7 separate regions of the Homo sapiens genome follow, and regions 2, 3, 4, 5, 6 and 7 are each linked to region 1. The links are contacts of gene promoters, found by promoter capture Hi-C in blood cells and fetal thymus (Javierre and others, 2016). All regions are on one chromosome and are shown on one strand. The core of a region is centred on a gene start or on the middle of the fragment in contact, and the rest is flanking DNA. Distances in the headings are between cores, read along the strand shown.

What was found. The method cuts DNA at HindIII sites, captures the fragments that hold promoters and counts their contacts. A CHiCAGO score of 5 or more calls a contact.
Region 2: a contact is called between a fragment that was not itself captured here and the fragment with the promoter of OMA1 in region 1, in 2 of 17 cell types (naive CD4 T cells and activated CD4 T cells). The highest score is 6.7, in naive CD4 T cells.
Region 3: a fragment that was not itself captured here is called in contact with the fragment with the promoter of OMA1 in region 1 in 4 of 17 cell types (naive CD8 T cells, total CD4 T cells, total B cells and 1 more); the score reaches 7.5 in naive CD8 T cells.
Region 4: a contact is called between a fragment that was not itself captured here and the fragment with the promoter of OMA1 in region 1, in 11 of 17 cell types (naive CD4 T cells, total CD4 T cells, naive CD8 T cells and 8 more). The highest score is 30.3, in naive CD4 T cells.
Region 5: a contact is called between a fragment that was not itself captured here and the fragment with the promoter of OMA1 in region 1, in 1 of 17 cell types (total B cells). The highest score is 6.2, in total B cells.
Region 6: a fragment that was not itself captured here is called in contact with the fragment with the promoter of OMA1 in region 1 in 10 of 17 cell types (naive B cells, activated CD4 T cells, total CD4 T cells and 7 more); the score reaches 10.6 in naive B cells.
Region 7: a fragment that was not itself captured here is called in contact with the fragment with the promoter of OMA1 in region 1 in 6 of 17 cell types (total CD4 T cells, non-activated CD4 T cells, total B cells and 3 more); the score reaches 7.2 in total CD4 T cells.

The regions. Positions count from the first base shown.
Region 1 is chr1:58,545,271-58,548,022 of GRCh38, reverse strand. OMA1 (OMA1 zinc metallopeptidase) reads left to right here and starts at 1,297. Exons shown (of 9, transcript NM_145243.5): 1 at 1,297-1,320. It also overlaps a transcript of DAB1 not described here. RefSeq lists enhancers at 859-1,048, 1,262-1,888 and silencers at 1,449-1,548, 1,559-1,648. The HindIII fragment of the contact is 5,811 bases long and covers 1-2,124 here.
Region 2 is chr1:59,860,038-59,862,737 of GRCh38, reverse strand. HOOK1 (hook microtubule tethering protein 1) reads right to left here. Exons shown (of 22, transcript NM_015888.6): 15 at 2,410-2,550. Among named protein-coding and RNA genes, the nearest start is that of HOOK1, 46 kb to the right of the region's middle. The HindIII fragment of the contact is 1,619 bases long and covers 637-2,255 here.
Region 3 is chr1:56,845,507-56,848,206 of GRCh38, reverse strand. No RefSeq gene overlaps it. Among named protein-coding and RNA genes, the nearest start is that of C8A, 7.9 kb to the left of the region's middle. The HindIII fragment of the contact is 6,184 bases long and covers 1-2,700 here.
Region 4 is chr1:56,826,861-56,829,787 of GRCh38, reverse strand. It overlaps a transcript of FYB2 not described here. Among named protein-coding and RNA genes, the nearest start is that of FYB2, 8.9 kb to the right of the region's middle. The HindIII fragment of the contact is 1,344 bases long and covers 995-2,338 here.
Region 5 is chr1:59,932,121-59,934,992 of GRCh38, reverse strand. It overlaps a transcript of CYP2J2 not described here. Among named protein-coding and RNA genes, the nearest start is that of CYP2J2, 6.8 kb to the right of the region's middle. The HindIII fragment of the contact is 1,898 bases long and covers 596-2,493 here.
Region 6 is chr1:59,795,530-59,798,229 of GRCh38, reverse strand. All of the region lies in intron 3 of LOC105378758 (a long non-coding RNA gene), which reads left to right. Among named protein-coding and RNA genes, the nearest start is that of HOOK1, 18 kb to the left of the region's middle. The HindIII fragment of the contact is 2,627 bases long and covers 1-2,569 here.
Region 7 is chr1:59,829,435-59,832,316 of GRCh38, reverse strand. It overlaps HOOK1 (hook microtubule tethering protein 1), which reads right to left. Exons shown (of 22, transcript NM_015888.6): 4 at 104-154. Among named protein-coding and RNA genes, the nearest start is that of HOOK1, 16 kb to the right of the region's middle. The HindIII fragment of the contact is 1,907 bases long and covers 595-2,501 here.

The DNA.
Region 1 (2,752 bases), core at 48-2,547:
ATTTCATCTGAGGGGATAGTGAGATGATGGTGGAGATTAATGTCATAATTAAAGACCTGAAATATACAAGAGTGGTTGGTCATCCCTGCCATATCTCTACTTAACTTGCCAGTCTGGCCCCTTTGGAAATCAGGTGGACCCAGGATAATGACATAATGGCTCTGCGCAGTCCAAAAGGAGCTGGATCAACTGGAAATTCCAGAGAACATCACACCCATCTATTTCACCAATGACATTATGCTAACCAGGCAAGATGAGCAAGAGGTGGCTAGCATGCTGGAAACTTTGGTAAGACATGTGCACTCCAGAGTTTGGGAGATAAACCCTACGAAGACTGAAGGACCTCCTACTTCAGTTTTTAGGGGTCCAGTTGTCAGGGGTTTTCCAGGATATCCCTTTCAAAGTAAAAGGCAAATCATAAAATACACATAAGATAAACGAAACAGTAACTTACACATTTTCCAAAAGAGATACCTAAAATTGTTCATAGTGTTTATGTCCTTTGACATAGTGTTTATGTCCTTTGAGATGTTTTCATTGTGCACAGAGTGTAAACATAATAAACTAATATGAGACCTCACTACTCATCCATCACAATCCAGTGTTTATTTGTACTGGCTTATTTGTACACTTTTATTTATTTGTGTTTATTTGTACACTTTTTTTTAATCGCCTGTCTTTCCTCACTGTGATATAAAGTTCACGAAATTCAGGTCTGTCTTGTTCACTGCTACATCCTTGGCACTTAAAATGTAGTTGATGCTCAAGAAATATGTTTTGGTGAAATGAATGAAACATACTATACACATAATTTTGGAGCCAGCTACTTTAACCTCCAGACACTTAAGATTATACTTCATCTTTCTTAAAATGCGTCCCTCCAAAAATCATATGAAAGCACTGTTCCCATACTCCAAAGACTATTTCTATGAATGCAGATTCAGAACCAGGAAGCCTTCGTCTTTTGGCAGTCTTCGAGTCTCTTCCCTTTTGGCCGGTACTGCCGTAGAGACTACAACGGACACAGCCTTGCGTGGATCATTCTTTAGAGGACCCAACTCACCAAAGACGGGAGAAAGTTGTTCCTAGGCAAGCAGCCCAGCCCAGGGCCATGTCCCGCCTTAAGCCACACGGAGGCGCTAGAGCGCCACAGTCTCCGCGGGGCCCGGGGCAGCTGGGAGAACGACTCTGGGCGGCTGTATTGACTGCCGGGTGTGGGCGGAGCGAAGGGCGCCCCGGCCGGTATGGCGGGCAGGAAGTGCGGGTGCGCGCCTGCGCATAGGTCGGGTCTGCGGTGTCACCGCTTTCGCTTCTGCTTGAGTCAGTCCTCACGGTGACGCTTTTCCCCAGCTTTTCCGAGTAGGATCGTGCCCAGGGGAGGAGGCAGAGTGCGGCAGTGGGGAGGGGGCGGAGCGCAGAGCGCCTGCGGGGGCGCCCGGGCAAGGAGTGGGGATCCTTGGGGATGGGGGTACGGGAGGAGGCGTGGGTGGGCGATAAGGCTGCGTGGAGGGGAGGGGCGGGGGGCGCCGGGGCGGGAGACGGAGGGGATCTGTCCTGGGGGAGCCCGGTTCTCCCCTAGCCTTGCCCGGGGCACGCCGGTGACCCCGTGTGTCTGCCCCGTGGCAGTACTTTCGTGGGCCGCCTGCCCTCCCCCTCAGCCCGCCCTTATCCGCGGCTCCGCTTTCAGAGCAGGGTTTCTCACCCGCGGGGCTTCGGGCTCCTCACCCGGCACCTCTGCCAGAGGGGACCGCCTCCCGGCGCGTCGGGCATTCGTCTCTTTCACCCCTTCCCTCTTCAGGAGAAACTGAACACGTTTTCCAGCCTAAACTCGGCAGGGCAAACCAGAACATTCCCCGTCTAAGCAGTTCCGGGGAGTTTTAACAATTTCCTCGTAAACTCGTCTACAGAACTCACTGTATACTGTTTAAATGTCGCCTGTGTGTGGAGCAACAGTTTTATTGTGCCGTGCAATCCTCAACAAGAAATTGTAGTCCAGGGAGATGAAAATCCCTTATTTGGCATTCAGGCGTTGATCAAGGTCGTGCAACCCTCGCTAAAAGGATTTAGGTTCATCTCCGTCATTCTCAGCCGGGGTGAAGGGGTGTAGTCTGACATTTGGAAGCTTAAGAACCAAGTCTGCTGCCGTCCAATTCTTTTTTAAAGCCTTCCATCATGTGTGTACTTTGCTTGAATGATTATTTTAAAGTACATGTCCTATTTTTGCCAATCTGACAGCTGTTTCCATAGAAACTAGAGAAGAAATAGTCATTTTCAGCAAGAGTTGTTAAAACTGTCTTCCAGGCTTCAGCTGTGAGTGCCAGTGAGTGCTGCACTTGCTCATTCGGAGATGGTACTTAAAGAATTAAGGATCTGAAATGTTCGTAGAGGCTAACAATCCAAATTGTTTAATTTTCTCACATCATTAATTTTGTTATCCTAGAAGTCTGCCAGCTATGTTTGTTGACCTGCCACAGCTCTTTGAAGAGAATATGTCAGCCCTGATTTTTTTTTTTCTTATGTGCTCTGTAGTCTAGTGATTGGCTCCTTGAAAATGCATGAATAGATTTCTTCCCTCATTCTTTACCCTTTCTTCAGGATAAACCGGGTATTACAAAATATCAGGCACTGTTTCTATTCAAAACGACACTTGGTTGTCAGTGATAGAAATGATAATGGTTTTAATTATATATGCGTAGTGTTGGGGCTTTTGCTTATACCTTCTGTGTCAATAGGATTCTTTTAAAATTTTTAC
Region 2 (2,700 bases), core at 197-2,696, 1.3 Mb before region 1:
GCAGTTAAGGATCTACAAAGGTACATTCAGTTAGCAATTTAAGTAAAAAATATTTTTATAGCAATGACAAATGCGGAATAATTATCTGTGCCTAGGTACAATATGAAGTAGGGCAGGCTACTTCTAAGAAAATACTTTTTAAAAGAAAACTTTTTTCCTGAAAGTATATATGCCTACATTTAAAATTTTAAGGAACTTAAATGTCGGTGGCAAAAAATTTCTACACCGCACTCACTGGTAGAAAAATCAGAAAACCAGCTCAATTTTTCTACAGTTGTATTTTTAATGAATGAAAACTAGATTTCCATCTTCTGTTTCAGATTTCACAGCGTATTGGAAGAGGAAGGTCACCATTTTCCAATCATTTCCACAAGTTTTTTTAAATTTAAATTAAAGGGAGTGCCACTAGCAACTAACTCAGATTCTAATGTGGCAAAATCTCATTCTTTAAAACTGTGCTTAAGAGTTACTTCCACTGGAAGTTACTAGCAAGAGTTAGTATCTCCCTCTCCCTCTATGTGTATCCACACATACACACTCACCTGCCTGCTATAATATTCCACTGTTGCAGTTATCACATAATATAGCAATTATCTATTTACATGTCTGCTTTCCTATGTTAATTCCTTAAAAGCTTAAATGATTTCCCCAGTGCTAACAACTTGTATTGAACTGAATAAGATAGTAATATGTAATGGTCTCTTCAGAAAAGTGTTAACAACTGGTATTGAACTGAGTAAGATGATAATATTTAATGGTCTCTTCAGAAAAGTGCTAACAACTGGTATTGAACTGAATAAAATAGTAATATTTAATGGTCTCTTTAGAAAACTAAATTGTTATTCTTCTTTTAACCACCGTTTATGTAACCTTATACACACAAGTTTGAGAAAGGTAAGATTCAAGTATGTCTAAAATTTCTGTTGGTGTCTAGGATTCAATAAAGGTTAAATAAATCCAAATACCCTTATAGTAAGTACACCATTTATAACAGGGAAGTTACCATAGTAGTTAGGAGTAAAGACTCAGTAATCAGATTGACAGAGAGTTCATTATGGAGGATCCAGAACTACTAGGTGTATAACTTTAGGTATGTTATTTAACTTCTCTGTATCCATATTCCTTATCCATAGAAAAAGAGCTATTGGTTACTACATGGTTACTATTTCATAGAGTTATTATGAGGATTTACTGAGTTAATAGCAAAAAAGTACTTAGAAAAGCATATAATAAGTTTTGAGCACTTCATTGATACCACATAAGCACATCATTTGCTTTAAGCTCATTATCTGCAGTCTTCCTAACAACTTGTATTTACACCTGAAGACACTGAGTGTAAGTTTAAGTAACTTGTCCAGAAACAGTTAATAAGTTAAATTAGAAGTGGGATTTAAATTTGATTCCACAATCTAGATCTTATCTATGCACTAGACTTCAGTAGAAAGCCAAACTGTCATTTATTCATTTGTCAAACTTTCTGAATTGTGAACATATCTAAATGAAATTCAAGAATAAGTAGCCTGGTGGGCCAGACACAGTGGCTCATGTTTGTAATCCCAGCAACTTTGGAAGGCTGAGGCAGGTGGATTACATGAGGTCAGGAGTTCGAGACCAGCCCAGCCAACATGGTGAAGCCCCATCTCTACTAATAATACAAAAATTGGCCAGGCATGGTGGCTCACGCCTGTAATCCCAGCACTTTGGGAGGCCAGGGTGGGTGGATCATGAGGTCAGGAGATTGAGACGAGCCTGGTCAACATGGTGAAACCCCATCTCTACTAAAAATACAAAAAAAAATTAGCCAGGCGTAGTGGCGTGTGCCTATAGTCCCATCTACTTGGGAGGGTGAGGCAGGAGAATCGCTTGAACCCGTGAGGCGGAAGTTGCAGTGAGCCGAGATCGCGCTACTGCACTCTAGCCTGGGTGACAGAGCAAGACTCCGTCTCAAAAAAAAAAAAAAGAAAGAGAAGAAAACAAATACAAAAACTATCCAAGCATGGTGGTGCATGTCTCTAATTGCAGCTATTCAGGAGGCCGAGGCATGAGAATCACTTGAACTGGGAAGGTGGAAGCTACAATGAGCAAAGATCACGCCACTGTACTCCAGCCTGGGCGACAGAGGGAGACCCTGTCTCAAAAAGAATAAAAAGAATAAGTAGCCTGGTTAACCAAGAATGCTGAAATTAATGGATTATCCATATATTTTATAAATATAACTGAAATGAATCACCTGACTTCTTTCACAGAGAGAAGCTTATAGTGATGAAAGACTACTAACAAAAATATTAAACTATTTCTAGGTAATTCTAATTACTTTAGCTACAATAATATTTTCCATTTCTGTGAATCAAGATTTTATGGCTCGGTAATAAAATCACCAAGATTTTCAGTTACTAAGGAGCATATCACCTCTGCTCAGTTTCCAGTTCATTCATTTTACGGTGTTTCTGTTCTAGCTGCTCCTGAAGTTCCTCAATACGTTCATTCTCAGAGCCTTCTTGCTGTAAGCGAAGCATCTTATTTTCATGTTGCAGTCGAATAAACACCTCCCTGATGTTACAAAGCAAAATCTTTTTTAATTTTTAAAAATATGAGTCATTATATTCTTTAGTTAAAAAAAGGAAATTCCTGTCCACTCAATAGCTACCATTTTAAGATGCAAGCAGGACCAGCTAGCATAGCTGGTAGGGTATGAAACTC
Region 3 (2,700 bases), core at 149-2,648, 1.7 Mb after region 1:
TCATGTTTTAGCAAAGAGACCTGCAGCGTTGGCCCCTGCCCTAGGAATGTGTGGAACTTTGAACTTGAGAAAGATGATTTAGGGTATCTGGTGGAAGAAATGTCTAAGCAGCAAAGCATTGAAGATGTGACTTGGGTGCAGTTAAAGGCATTCAGCTTTGTAAGGGAAGCAGAGCATAAAAGTTCAGAAAATTTGCAGCCCGATGATGTGATAAAAAAGAAAAACCCATTTTCTAGGGAGAAATTCAAGATGGCTGCAGAAATTTGCATAAGTAACGAGGACCTGAATGTTAATCCCTAAGACAATGGGGAAAATGTCTCCAGGGCATGTCGGAGGTCTTCATGGCAGCCCCTCCCAACACAGTCCTGAAGGCCTAGGAGAAAATGGTTTTGTGGTCTGGGCGCAGGGTCACCATGCTGTGTACATGTGGTGTACACTTGGTGCCCTGCATCCCAGCCTCTCCAGCCATGGTTGAAAGGGGCCAATGCACAGCTCACGCCATGACTTCAGAGGGTGTAAGCCCCAAACCTTGGCAGCTTCCACATGGTATTGAGACTGAGAGGGCACAGTAGTCAAGAATTGGGATTTGGGGGCCTCCATCTAGATTTCAGAAGATGTATGGAAACACCTGGATGACAGGCAGAAGTTTGCTGCAGAGGCAGGGTGCTCATGGAGAACCTCCGCTAGGGTAGTGCAGAAGGGAAATGTGGGGTCAGAGTCCCTACTGGGGCACCACCTCGTGAAGCTGTGAGAAGAGGACCACCATCCTCCAGACCCTAGAATGGTTGATCCACTGACAGCTTGCACCACTTGCCTGGAAAAGCCACAGACACTCAATGCCAGCCTGTGAAAGCAGCTGGGAGGGAGGCTGTACCCTGCAAAGTCACATAGGCAGAGCTGCCCAAGACCATGGGAACCCACCTCTTGCATCAGTGTGACCTGGATGTGAGACGTGCAGTCAAAGGAGATAATTTTGGAGCTTTAAAATTTGACTGACCTGCTGGATTTTGGACTTGCATGGGCCCTGTAACCACTTTGTTTTGGCCAATTTCTCCCATTTGGAATGGCTGTATTTACTCAATACCTGTACCCCCATTGTATCTAGGAAGTAATTAGATTTTGATTTTACAGACTCATAGGCAGAAGGGACTTGACTTGTCTCAGATGAGACTTTGGACTGTGGACTTTTGGGTTAATGCTGAAATGAGTTAAGACTTTGGGGGCTGTTGGGAAGGCATGACTGATTTTGAAATGTGAGAACATGAGATTTCAAGGGGCCAGAGGTGGAATGATATGGTTTGGCTCCATGTCCCTACTCAGATCGGATCTTGAATTGTACTCCCATAATTCCCACGTGTTGTGGGAAGGACCCGGTAGGAGATAATTTGAATCATGAGGGCGGTTCCCCCCATACTGTTCTTATGGTAGTGAATAAGTCTCACAAGATCTGATGGTTTTATCAGGGGTTTCTGCTTTTGCATCTTCCTCATTTTCTCTTGCCACTGCCGTGTAAGAAGTGCCTTTTGCCTCCTGCCATGATTCTGAAGTCTCCCCAGCCATGTGGAACTATAAGTCCAATTAAACCTCTTTTTCTTCCCAGTCTTGGGTATATTTATCAACTGCACAAAATGGATGAATACACCATCCTTTCTGTCAGGATTCTCTATTCCAGAAATACCAACCTATGGCTATTTGGGTTGGGCTTACTCTTAGCGGTGCCCAAGATGCCATCTGAAGAATCAGTAATGGCACAATCAGTAACGGCACAAGTAATGGCACTGAGAAACTGACGTAGACCACTGTGTGTGTGTGTGCCATTTTTCTATGTATTTGAGGCATCTTTATATTGTCAGCCCATGAGTATTTACATTTTAAATGAGACCCTTAAAGAAATTGTAGCCTTTAAGTCTCAGAGCAATAGTGACCCAATGGATTGATCAGTCAGAACCTGAGCTGTGGGAGTGCTGACAAGTTTTTCACTATTATGTTATAGTCAGTGATATAATGCACATGGCAATCAGTTATTGCATTCATTCCATCAAGGCTTAGGGTTAGACACTGTGGTGGACATTGAACACTCAGAGATAAAGAGAACACATCCCCTGCCCATCACCATGCCATGCCTAGGGGTGAGTGTGCCATGGAGAGCTGCAGATGGCCAAACTGGGAGCAGCCACAAACAGCTGCTGATGTGAGACTTATGCTTTGAAGGAAGCAGAAGGAAGGGGATAGGAGCTTGGTTGATGCAGAAGTTGCTTTAAACAGAGAGAGGAAGAAAGAGCAAACATCCCAGACATTGAGAATAGAATAAGCAAATCCAGTAAGGCACCAAAGAGCATGGCCATCTTGGGGCTCAACCAGCTATCTGGAGGGCTAGAACTAAGTATACCTTGAGAAGGATTGGCAGGACAGGCAAAGCCACATCCATCAACTTTGGGTTTTGTGGTTTTGGTTTTTTGTTGTTGGTTTTTGCTAAGACTCAGATATGTATTTCATCCCTAAGGACATGGAGGTACAACTGAATGAATTGAGGCTGTGGAGCCTCCTGATCAGATTTGTACTTTGCACTCTGGGATCCTCTTGGAGGATGCAGTGAGGGGCAGGGATCGGGGAGTTGGGATCAGAAGCCAAGAAACCAGGTTAGAGACCAACTCCCAGGACCTGGAACACCATGCACCTGCCACACAAGGGGAAGCCCTT
Region 4 (2,927 bases), core at 417-2,916, 1.7 Mb after region 1:
TAATTCCTTGCTCTTCTGCTTTTCCTCCCTCTTTATTTCTTTGTATTGTCCTTTGATTTTGTGCAAGTGTTTTAGAAAGCATAAGGTTCTGTACAAATGGGAGGGATTTTTCTTCTCCTCTGCTCTTCATGCCTAAGGTAAATCATATGATACTTAATCATAAAATCATGAGACTGATTTTTTAAACAGACTACTTAGATATTCGAATGAGTACTGCTCTTCTGAGCAGTCACCTGGAGAGGTGAACTTCATATTCCAATGAATATTTGAGCCACAGCTCAATTCGTATTAATTATGCCTCAATTTTAACAAAAAGCATAATGGCTTGATCAACTGAATTATGCATCTGATTTAATTCCCAAGCCCCTGTAATGTTTCAAAAAAATGAAAAAGAAGAAAAGAAAACCACAACTGAATCTATGTTTGCAAATCCAAAGCAAAGATTTGTCTTCTTAAATAACATATCTTAGGATCTGAAGGCAACTGTCCATGGAGAGTTACAAAAATATTTTGGATCCCGGCATTAGAATAAATGTTGAAGAGCAAACACTCAGGAGGGTGCATGAGTTTTCCATTTGCTTAATAGAAGAGGAGGAGGAAGAGCAGGGAGGAGAAGGAGACACAGGAAGGCGGCAGGGTGTCACACTCTTCCCCTACATCCAAGATGATCTGGACCACCCTCTTTCAGCCACCCTGCAGCAGAATTCTCCCAGCCTACAGGCTAAATCTGAAGTCCTCAGCACACAATTCAAAGCGCGCATTGTGGCTACACATTCTGGGATGTGTAGTCTTTCCCTCCTGGGATGGCTTTCCTGACACACCCTGCACTTCTGCCAGAGCCAGAGTTCTCTCTGCTCCCTGAGAATGCCAGACCCATTCCAGAAGCTGTGCCCCGATCACACTGTTGCCTCTTCTGAAACAGCCTCTCCCTGCTTTCATGTCAAACTCTCATGCCTCATCAAGACCCAGCTCATGCTATCTCCTCCAAAAAGCTTTCTGAACCCTTTCCTTCCACAAAAAAAGGACATCATTGCTCCTTCTATTTTGCTCTAGTGGCTTAAGAAAAGTCAATTATGGTATTTACTGTTTTCTCTTGTATTATGTGTATCCCTTATGCCTGCCATGAGAGAGGTTGCCCACAGATGCATTCTTCAGCCCTGCCCTGTTCTCCCCCATATGGCAGGACCTCTGACCCCTACAGGCTGCAGGTCTCAGGCTTCTGCATCAGTTGGCTTCTGTCTGGGCTTGGCCAATGGAAGGCACTCACAGGAGACTACTGAAAGATGGGAGGAAGGAAGAAGCCAGGGTACTTCTTCTCTTCTCTAGAAGCCTCAGAAGGTAGAGGTGGCCATTACTTTCCCTTACTGATTCTCACGCTTCCTCTGAGTGATTCTAGCTCCTAGACCCTAATACACCACCTCCAATTTGTCCCTGTAGCTTAGTGGCTCCCAGCTCTTGCTAATCCCTGGGTATCCTCACAGCTCTCCTGGTGTAACCAATTGTCCATATTAAATTTCCTGCTTCCAATATGTAGAAAGATTTCTGTTTTCCTAACTGGACCCTGGCAGATACATCAGCTCATCTCCCCATCCAGGAGTTCCTGAGAATGGTCGGTTTAATAATAAAACCAGTGAATGGGTGAATGGAGAAACATGTTTACTTATCATAAATCATGTTTATATTTATACTTTCCAAGACACTTTCATGGCTCTGGGAAAGTTATCCACTTTTCCTAACTAGGTTCCCCATCCCCAGTCCTCTTGTTCAAGTTAACCCACACTCAAGTCCTGCATAGCATCTGTGTCACTGACAGATGGTGAGATACTGGGTGTGGAGTGAGATCATCACAATCAGAACAGTTAGAGAATCCAGAAAAACTGAGAGTGTTGGCAGGGGCCCTTAGGACAATGGCAAAGGATCCATTATCCTTCTGCTCTTCAGGTCTCATATGTGACTTTAGCCAGAGTGAGGCCAATTTACAGTTATTCCTAGAGCCCAGTGCAATTTGCACATGATGAGAAGATGCACATTCATGGCCAAAGTGGAAGATTTGGATAACAGGCTGGCTGCAGAAATGCTCCCCTATGCATGAGGCCAGCACATGGCCGCATGGTCTCCTCAGTGCTGCCCAGAGCATTATTATATTTCCATATTGGTCTGGAGGCCAAATGAATAGAAACCAGGCATTTAAAAGGGATCTGGGAATGGCCAGCAGTTAACGCTCCCACTACAGTGGAGGATGGTTCTACCCTTTCCTGACCCATACATCTCTCAAATCACTTTGGTCCTTCTAAAGCCTTGGCTGTAAATGAGGCTGACCAGCTATTGAGAAGAAGCTTAGACCTAAAATGAGAAAAGGAAAATAATCCCACCAAATGAAATCTCACCAGAAAGGTAACATGTTTATTAAAAAAAAAAAAAAAAAAAAAAACAAACCAGTTATTGTAGGGTTAGCACTGAGCTAGGTAGAGAATGAGTAAGAACAAATTTCTGCCCTTGAAGGCCCCACTGCCTACTTGACAGAGACAGGCACATGGGCAGAGGGACAAAGGCAAGGTGGTGAGCTGAGCTGGAGTCCAGAGGCTCAGTGTATGGCCCATGCACAGCAGGTAAGAATACATGTTCTGGATGGGGCTGACCAAAGGCAAACCCCAGCCCTCCCACTGACCAGCCTTTTAACCTGATCTGCGTGACCCTCATTTCCCTGGGTCTTGGCTTTCTCATCTGTAAAATGGGGGGTGAGTGCCCACTCACAGTTGTTGTGAAAATAAAATGAGTTTATGCACCAGAAGTTCTTCATGCCTAGTCTGATGCAAGCCCACACAAGAACACTGGTGTTGTCATAATGGATGGCCTCTGGTGGCAGTAGTGAAATTCCTCCAACAGCTTTGTGGGCCCTGGATTGGAGCTGGAAAGAAAGACCATGG
Region 5 (2,872 bases), core at 295-2,794, 1.4 Mb before region 1:
TATCCCATTTTCTTTTTACCTTCATCTATCAGGAGGCACTTAGGTTGTTTCTATATCTTGGCTGTTATAAATAATGGGATAATGAATATAGCAATGCAGTTATCTCTTCAACACAGTGATTTCATTTCCTTTGGATATATAACCAGATGTGGGATTGCTGGGTCATATGGTAATCCTATTTTTAATTTTTAAAAGAAACTCCATATTTCATAATGGTTGTACCAGTTTGCATTCCCACCAACAGTGCACAAGGATTCTATTTTCTCCATATCCTAGCCAACCCATATTATCTTTTGACATTTTGATAATAGTTATCTTAACATGTATGAGGTGATACCTCATCATGAGTGTGATTTGCATTTCCTTGATGATTAGTGACATTGAGCATCATTTCATATACCTGTTCACCCACTTGTATGTTTCCTTAGTAAAATATCTATTCAAGTCATTTGCCCATTTAAAATCAGGTTATTTGGGGATTTTTTGCTATCAATTTGTAGGAATTTCTTACATATTTTTATATCAACCCCCTATCAGATACACGATTTGCATGTATTTTCACTGCATTGATTGTTTCCTTTGTTGTGAAGAAGCTTTAGTTTGATATTCTCACTTGTATGTTTTTGCTTTTGTTGCCTCTGCTTTTGATGTTATATCCAAATCATTGCTAAGACCACTGTTATGAAGTCTTTCCCCTGTGTTTTCTTCTAGGAGCTTTAGGGTTTCACGTCATATGTTTAGGTTTTTAATCCATTTTGAGTTTATTTTTGTCTGTGTTATATAATAAGGGTTCAATTTCATTCTTTTACATGTGGTTATACAGTTTTGCCACACCATTGTTGAAGAGACTGTCCTTTCCCCGTTATGTAGTATTGATATCCTTGTTGAAGACCATTTGCTCATATATGCATGGATTTGTTTCTGGGCTGTCTATTCTGTTTCATTGGTCTCTAGGTCTGTCTTTATGCCAGTATCAGATTTATTTGGTTACTGTAGTTTGTAATGTTTTGGAATTAGGAAAGTTTTGTGCCTGCAGCTTTGTTTTTGTTTCTCAAAATTGTTTCACTTTTTCAGGGTCTTTTGTAGGTCCATATAAATTTTAGAATATTTTTTAATTTCTTCTGCAAAAAAGGAAAAGTCAAGAGGATTTTGATATGGATGACATTAAATCTGCAAATTAATTTCGGTAATATGGACATTTTAACAATATTAAGTCTTTCAATCTATGAACATGGGATGTCTTTCCATTTATTTGTGTCTTTTAATTTTTTTTAGCGATGTCTTGCAGTTTTCAATGCACAAATCTTTTGTCTCCTTAGTTAAGTCTATTCTTTTTAATGCTGAAGTAAATTATCTCTGTTCACAGATGACATAATCTTACATGTAGAAAACTCTAAAGATTCCACACACCACCCCCCAAAAAACTGTTAGAACTAATAAGCAAATTCAGCAAAGTTTTAGGATACAAAATCAACATGCAAAAATCAGCTGTGTTTCTATACACTAACAACAAACAATCTGAAAGGGATATTTTTTAATCCACTCTGATAGACTATATCTTTTAATTGGTGTATTTAGATTATTGACACTTAAAATGATTATTGATGTAGTTGGGTTAATATCTACCCTATTCTTATCTGTTTTCTACTCATTGCTCTTGTTTTTGTTTCTTTTCTGTCTTGCACTCATTTTTAGCCTTGTGTCATTTTAATTGAGCATTTTATATGATTCTGCTTTCTTTCCTTTCTTAGCATATCAATTGTATTTCTTTTATTAAACTTGTTTAAGGTTGCCTTAGAGTTGGCACTACACATTTCCAACTGATTGAAATCATTTCAAATAATACTATACTGCTTTATGGGTAGTGCAAGTACCTTATAATAGAATTTTTCTGATTTGTTCCATGCATTCTTTGTAACATTGCATCATTCATTTCACTTATCAATAAGCTATAATCACTGAATACATTGCTGTTATTTTTACTTGGAGCAAACTTATCTGCTAAATCAATTAAGAATAAGAAAAATCCTTTGGGAGGGTGAAGAGGGCAGATCACTAGAGGTCAGGACTTCGAGACCAGCTGGGCCAACATGGTGAAACCCTGTCTCTACTAAAAATACAGAAATTAGCCAAGCATAATGCCATGTGCTTGTAATCCCAGCTACTCAGGGGGCTGAGGCACAAGAATTGCTTGAACCTGGAAGGCAGAGGCTGCAGTGAGCCATGATTGCACCACTGCACTCCAGCCTGGGCAACAGAGCAAAACTCTGTCTCAAAAAAAAAAAAAATAGAATAAGAAAATAAAATATTTATCTTACTTTCATTTATCTCTTCTCTGGTATTCTTCCTTTCTGTATGTATATCTCAGTTTCTGGCCTAAATATTTTTCCTTCTTTCTAAAGAACTTCTTTTACTAGTTCTTGTAAAGCATGTCTACTAGTAAAAAACTCCCTCAATTTTTGCTTTTTACTACTTCTTCACTTTTTTGAAGCTTAGAAACTTAGAACTTACTTTTATAAAAGCATGTTGACAAATATTGAAATGTTATAGTTGCAATTTGAACATTATTAGATGAATATAAAACACAAAACACTCTAAATTGAATCTCCTATGGCTGACTCAATTTAGATATTATTTTATATCTTATAGAAAAAAACTTTCAGAGTTTTGTCAATGCTTATAGCATGTATTATTACTCCTCAATAAAATCTTCATGAAATCTCAAAGGTTGATAGTAAAAGTAATGATTTTTTTCCTATGGAATATCCTAAAACATACCTGTATAGATTAGCCTTCAGACTTTCAGGACGTTAAAAATATACAGAGTACCTCAGAATACTTTTCACACACTTAGGTTAAATTTGCTTACAGT
Region 6 (2,700 bases), core at 7-2,506, 1.3 Mb before region 1:
GAGAGAAGCCACCAAGAGGCCCCAGGCTCTTCTAAACAACCAGCTTTTATATGAACTAACAGAGTGAGAACTCATTACTGTGAGGAGAGCACCAAGCCATTCTTGAGGGATCTGTTCCCATGACCCAAACACCTCTCTCTAGGCCAACCTTCAACAATAGAGTTCATACTTCAACATGAGATTTGGAGGGGCCACACATCCAGACTATAGCAAGCTAATAGAGGAATTTAGCCAAGTTGCAGAATATAATATCAAAACTCCATGTATTTCTACAATGGATATCTGTATTGTATATAAAACCCCATTGTATTTATATATACGAGTAATGAACAATCTGAAAAAGAAACCATAAAACAATTTCATTTAAAATAACATCAGGCCCAGTGTGGTGGCTCACACCTGTAATCTCAGCACTTTGGGAGGCTGAGGCAGGCGGGTCACTTGAGGTCAGGAGTTCAAAACCAGCCTGGTCAACATGGCAAAACCCTGTCTCTACTAAAAATACAAAATTGGCTGAGTGTGATGGTGCATGCCTGTAGTCCCAGCTACTCAGGAGGCCGAGGCAGGAGAATCACTTGAACCTGGGAGGCAGAGGTTGCAGTGAGCTGTGATCATGCCACTGCACTCCAGCCTGGGTGACAGAGTGAGACTCTGTCTCAAAAACAAACAAATGAAACAAAAACAAACAGAAAAATAAAAATAAAGTAACATCAAAACGGTAAAATATTTAAGAATATATTTAACCAGGGAATTGTAACACTTGTGCACTGAACACTATAAAATTTTGCTGAAAGAGATTAAGGAGAACCTTAATAAGTAGAAAGAGATTTCATGTTCATGGATTGGAAGATATAATATTAAGATGACAATACTCCCCAAATTGATCTACAGATTCAGTGCAAGCTCTATCAAAATTTCAACTTCTTTTTTGAACAAATAGAGAAGCTGATTCTAAAATTCATATGGAATTGCAAGAGATGCAGGACATCCAAAATCCTGAAAAAGAAAGCAAAAAGAACTTAAACCCATACTTCAAAACTTACTACAAAGTTACAAAAATCAAAACAGTGTACTATTGGAATAAAGGTAGATATATAGGTCACTGGAGTATAATTGAGAGTCCAGAAAGAAATCAATATATCTATGGATAATTTATTTCTAATAAAGATGTCAAGACCATTCAATGGGGGAAAGAATTGTCTTTTCAAAAAATGATGCTTGGACAAACGAATGTCTACACGGCAAAGAATGGATTTGGATCTTTACCTCATAACACATACATAAATTAATTCAAAACAGATTTAAAAATTCAAATGTAAAAGCTAAAACTATACAACTCTTGAAAGGAAACATAGGTGTAACTCTTCTTGACCTTAGATTAAGCAATAGTTTCTTAGCTAAGGTATCAAGAGCACAAGCAACAAAAGAAAAAATAGATAACATAAACTTCATTAAAATTAAAAACAAAAAAATTAATTGAAATCGTCATAATTATACATACTTAGTGGGTACAGAGTGACATTTCAATACATGCATACAATGTGTATTGATCAATCAGGGTAATTAGCATATCCATCATCTCAAACATCCATCATTTCTTTGTGTTGGGAACATTCAGCATCCTCCTTTTAGCTATCTGAAATGTTATAATATATTACTGTTGACTGTAGTCATCCCACAGGTGTATAAAACACTAGAACTTATTCCTCCTATCTAGCTGTAAGTTTGTATCCTTTAACTAACTTCTCTAACTCCCTCCTTTACCTACCCTTTTCTGGTAACCACAATTCTACTCTCTGCTTCTATGAGCTCAGCATTTCTAGTTTCCGCATTATGAGTGAGAACATGTGGTATTTATCATTCTGTGTCTGACTTATTTCACTTAACATAATATCTCCTAGGATGATCCATGTTGCTGCAAATGACAGAATTTTATTCTTTTTTATGGTTGAATAATATTTCATTGTGATATATATATATATCACATATATATATATGACATTTTTTTTATCCATTCATCTACTGATGGGCATGTAGGTTGATTCAATATCTTGCCTATTGTGAATAGTGCCACAATAAACACAGGGATGCAGATCACAATTCAGCATATGGTTTTCCTTTCCTTTGGATACATAACCAATAGTGGAATTGCTAGATCATATGGTAGTTCTATTTTCATTTTTTTTGAAGAAATTCCATACTGTTTTACATAATGGCTATACTAATTTACATTCCCACTAACAGAATATAAGAGTTCCCTTTTCTCTGCATCTTTGCCGGCATTTTTTTGTGTGTGCTTTTAATAAGAGCTAGTCTAACTAGATGAGATGATATCTCATTGTGGTTTTGATTTAAATTTTCTTAATGGTTTGTGATGTTGAGCACTTTTGCATATACATTGCCATTTGTATGTCTTTTTAAAAAATAAATGTCTATTTTGATCATTTGCCCATTTTTAAATCAGATTTTTTTTTTTTTGCTGTTGAATTGTTTGAGTTCCTTCTGTATTCTGGTTATTAATCCCTTGCCTCTTTATTCTCTTGATTGTTTCCTTTGTTACAGTGAAGCTTTTGAGTTTGATATAATCCCATTTGTCATTTTTGCTTTTGTTGCCTGTGCTCTTGAAGTCTCATCATTAAATCTTTGCTCAGAAGTGTTTCTCCTATGTTTTTTTCTGGTGGTTTTATAGTTTTGTGTCTT
Region 7 (2,882 bases), core at 299-2,798, 1.3 Mb before region 1:
ATTCCAGTAAAATATTATAAACAAAAAACCAAGTGATTTTTCAGTCTTAAAGTAATTTTCGTATAGCATGATGCATTTAAACAAAGTCAGATGGTTTTCATACCTCATGATAATAACTCATAATTCCTTGAAGGACCTTCTTTACATTACTGGCCTAATGTGAAAAAAATAAGAGATTCTTATTTCAGATTAATAATGAAAGAAAAGTTATGTCAGCATGAAAGACAATAAAAACTTTCCCCTAATTAAAAAGAACAACAAAAACATTATAATAGAGTTCTATAAATACAAACACATGATGCTTTTTAACCATCAGAGATTTAATCAGTGTTTAGTTAAGTAGGGTGATTCTATTTAAAGTGGGTCACAATGAACTCAAGGGCCCACTGTAAAAATTTATACACAGGCATGTCCAGCTGCAGTCATGAGCAAGTTAACTGGGTTTTGATTTTCTCTCCTGTCACTAATAACTAGAAAATAAGACAAAATACATTAAACAATTGTTTGCAAGCTTTAGACAAGTAAGTAGTACAGAACTCTGCTTTCTGAAAGAATGAAAACAAACAGAAAATGGGCCCTACACTAGTACAAGCTTTCTGTCTTGAGGCAATTTTCAGACTACAGCATAGGGAGGTGGAAACCAAACACCAAGCCTGATGTTCTCACCGATTGAAGAGATAAGACATTAGAAGTTCAGGAAGGCCTGGGCAGTTTGAATTTGCAAGGCAGACGATGAAAAGATGGGAGCTATGGAATGAGCAAGCTCTGGAGATTTGTGTAAAATGGTTCCTTTGACTCTTTGGCTAAATACCAGTTTGCATGTGGATGGGTGAAACTGAATGTTCTTTCCAAAGAAATAACAATCCAGGGAACTATAAACTGAACCATTCCCAAAGATTATACAGGCCAAAAAATTTTTGAAATTCTCACTAGCCAGAATGAAGACACCATGCTACACGCACAAAACATTCACTAAAGACCCCCAAAAAGGTCACAGCTTAGTAATGAGTCTACTTTAGTCCTAAAGGAAAGAATAACTTTAGTTCTGCCCCCCACAATAGCCAAAAATAGGCCTTTAAAGGATCAAACTGATTCCAAGTACCTTAACTGCTTGCAAGAAGAAAATTCAACACTCCTCAAAAGAATATACTTAATTGGGAGGCTGAGGCAGTTGGATCACCTGAGGTCAGGAGTTCAAGACCAGCCTGGCCAACATGGCGAAACCCCGCCTCTACTCAAAATACAAAAATTAGCCAGGCATGGTGGTGGGCACCTGTAATCCCAGCTACTCGGGAGGCTGAGGCAGAAGAATCGCTTGAACCTCGGGGGCAGAGGTTGCAGTGAGCTGAGATTGCACCACTTCACTCCAGGCTGGGCGTAAGAGCGAAATTCTGTCTCAGGAAAAAAAAAAAAAAACTTAAAAAAAAAAATCAGCATTCAATAATAAAATTCATAATGTTTAGCATCCAATTAAAAAATTACTACAGATGTGAAGAAGCAGGAAAGTGGGAACCAAAATTAGGAGAAAACTCAGTCAATACACATGGGTTCAGAAATGAAAGATAAAAGAATTGAGACAATGTTAAAACTTCTAGTTTAAAGATGTTCAAGGATTTGAACAAAAACATGAATGTAAGAAATAGAAGGTTTTTTACAATAAAGAATCAAATACAGATTGTCAAACTGGATAAAAATGTAAGACCCAACTATTAGGTGTCTACATGAAACACTTTCAATAAAAAGACATAGGCAGATTAAAAGAATGGAAAAAGAAATACTAATGAAAAATATAATCATAAAAAATCTGTAGTGGCTACATTAATATTAGAGCTAATTTGATTTCAAATAAAAGAATATTACCAGGGATAAAGAAAAGCATTTCATAATAAGTGAATTCATTCAAGAACACACAAGAAATATAGTGTGTAATAAACTTAATAACAGAAATTCAAAATACATGAAGTAAAAAGCAAAAAAATGCAAAGGAGAAATCAACAAAATCGAAATCATCATTAGAGATTTAAGGGCTCTCTACAGAGTCTATACTACACTATACACATAGTATAATAAGAAAAAATATCAATAAAGATATGGAAAATACCACTATCAACAAATTTAACAAAATCTATATTTATATAACAACTGTAGAATGCATGCTGTTTTCATATGCACATGGAACATTCACCAAGACAGACCATAGGTTCGGTCATAAAATAAGACTCAATAAATGTAAAATAACTTCTCAATACAGAGTATTGTCTCAGATCTATTAGAAACCAATAAATAAAAGAAAGGCAACTGGAAAATCCTCAAATATTTTGAATTTGAATTACCTACTTCTAATTTACTCATAGGTCAAAGGAGAAAACTTTATAAGGGAAATTACCAAATATTTTGAACTGAATGAAAATAAAGTAACAGTCTGTCAAAATATGTGGGATGTGGCTAAGATGGTGGTTAATATTAGGGGAAAAAAGGGTTTAGAGTTGATTATTTAAGCTTCCACCTTAAGAAGCAAGAAAAAGAAGAACAGGTTAAGTGAGAGAAAGGAAATAATAAAAATCAGAAAAATCAATGGAATAGAAAACATACACTAATTCTTTAAAAAATAAATAAGTAAAATTGAAAAACATCTAGCCAGACTTATCAAGGAAAATAAATTCAAAAGACACAAATAACCAATAGCAGGAAAAGAAAAGGAAACATCATTAAAGATCAGTTATTAGCACATTATTAGCACAGTAATTCAGTTAAGGACTGTGTATCAACAAATCATACATCCTGTATGAAACAAATGTCCTACAAGACACAACAAAACTGACTTAAAAATAGAAAATCAGTTTGGCAGTTTCTTATAAGGTTAAGCACATACTTATACAACT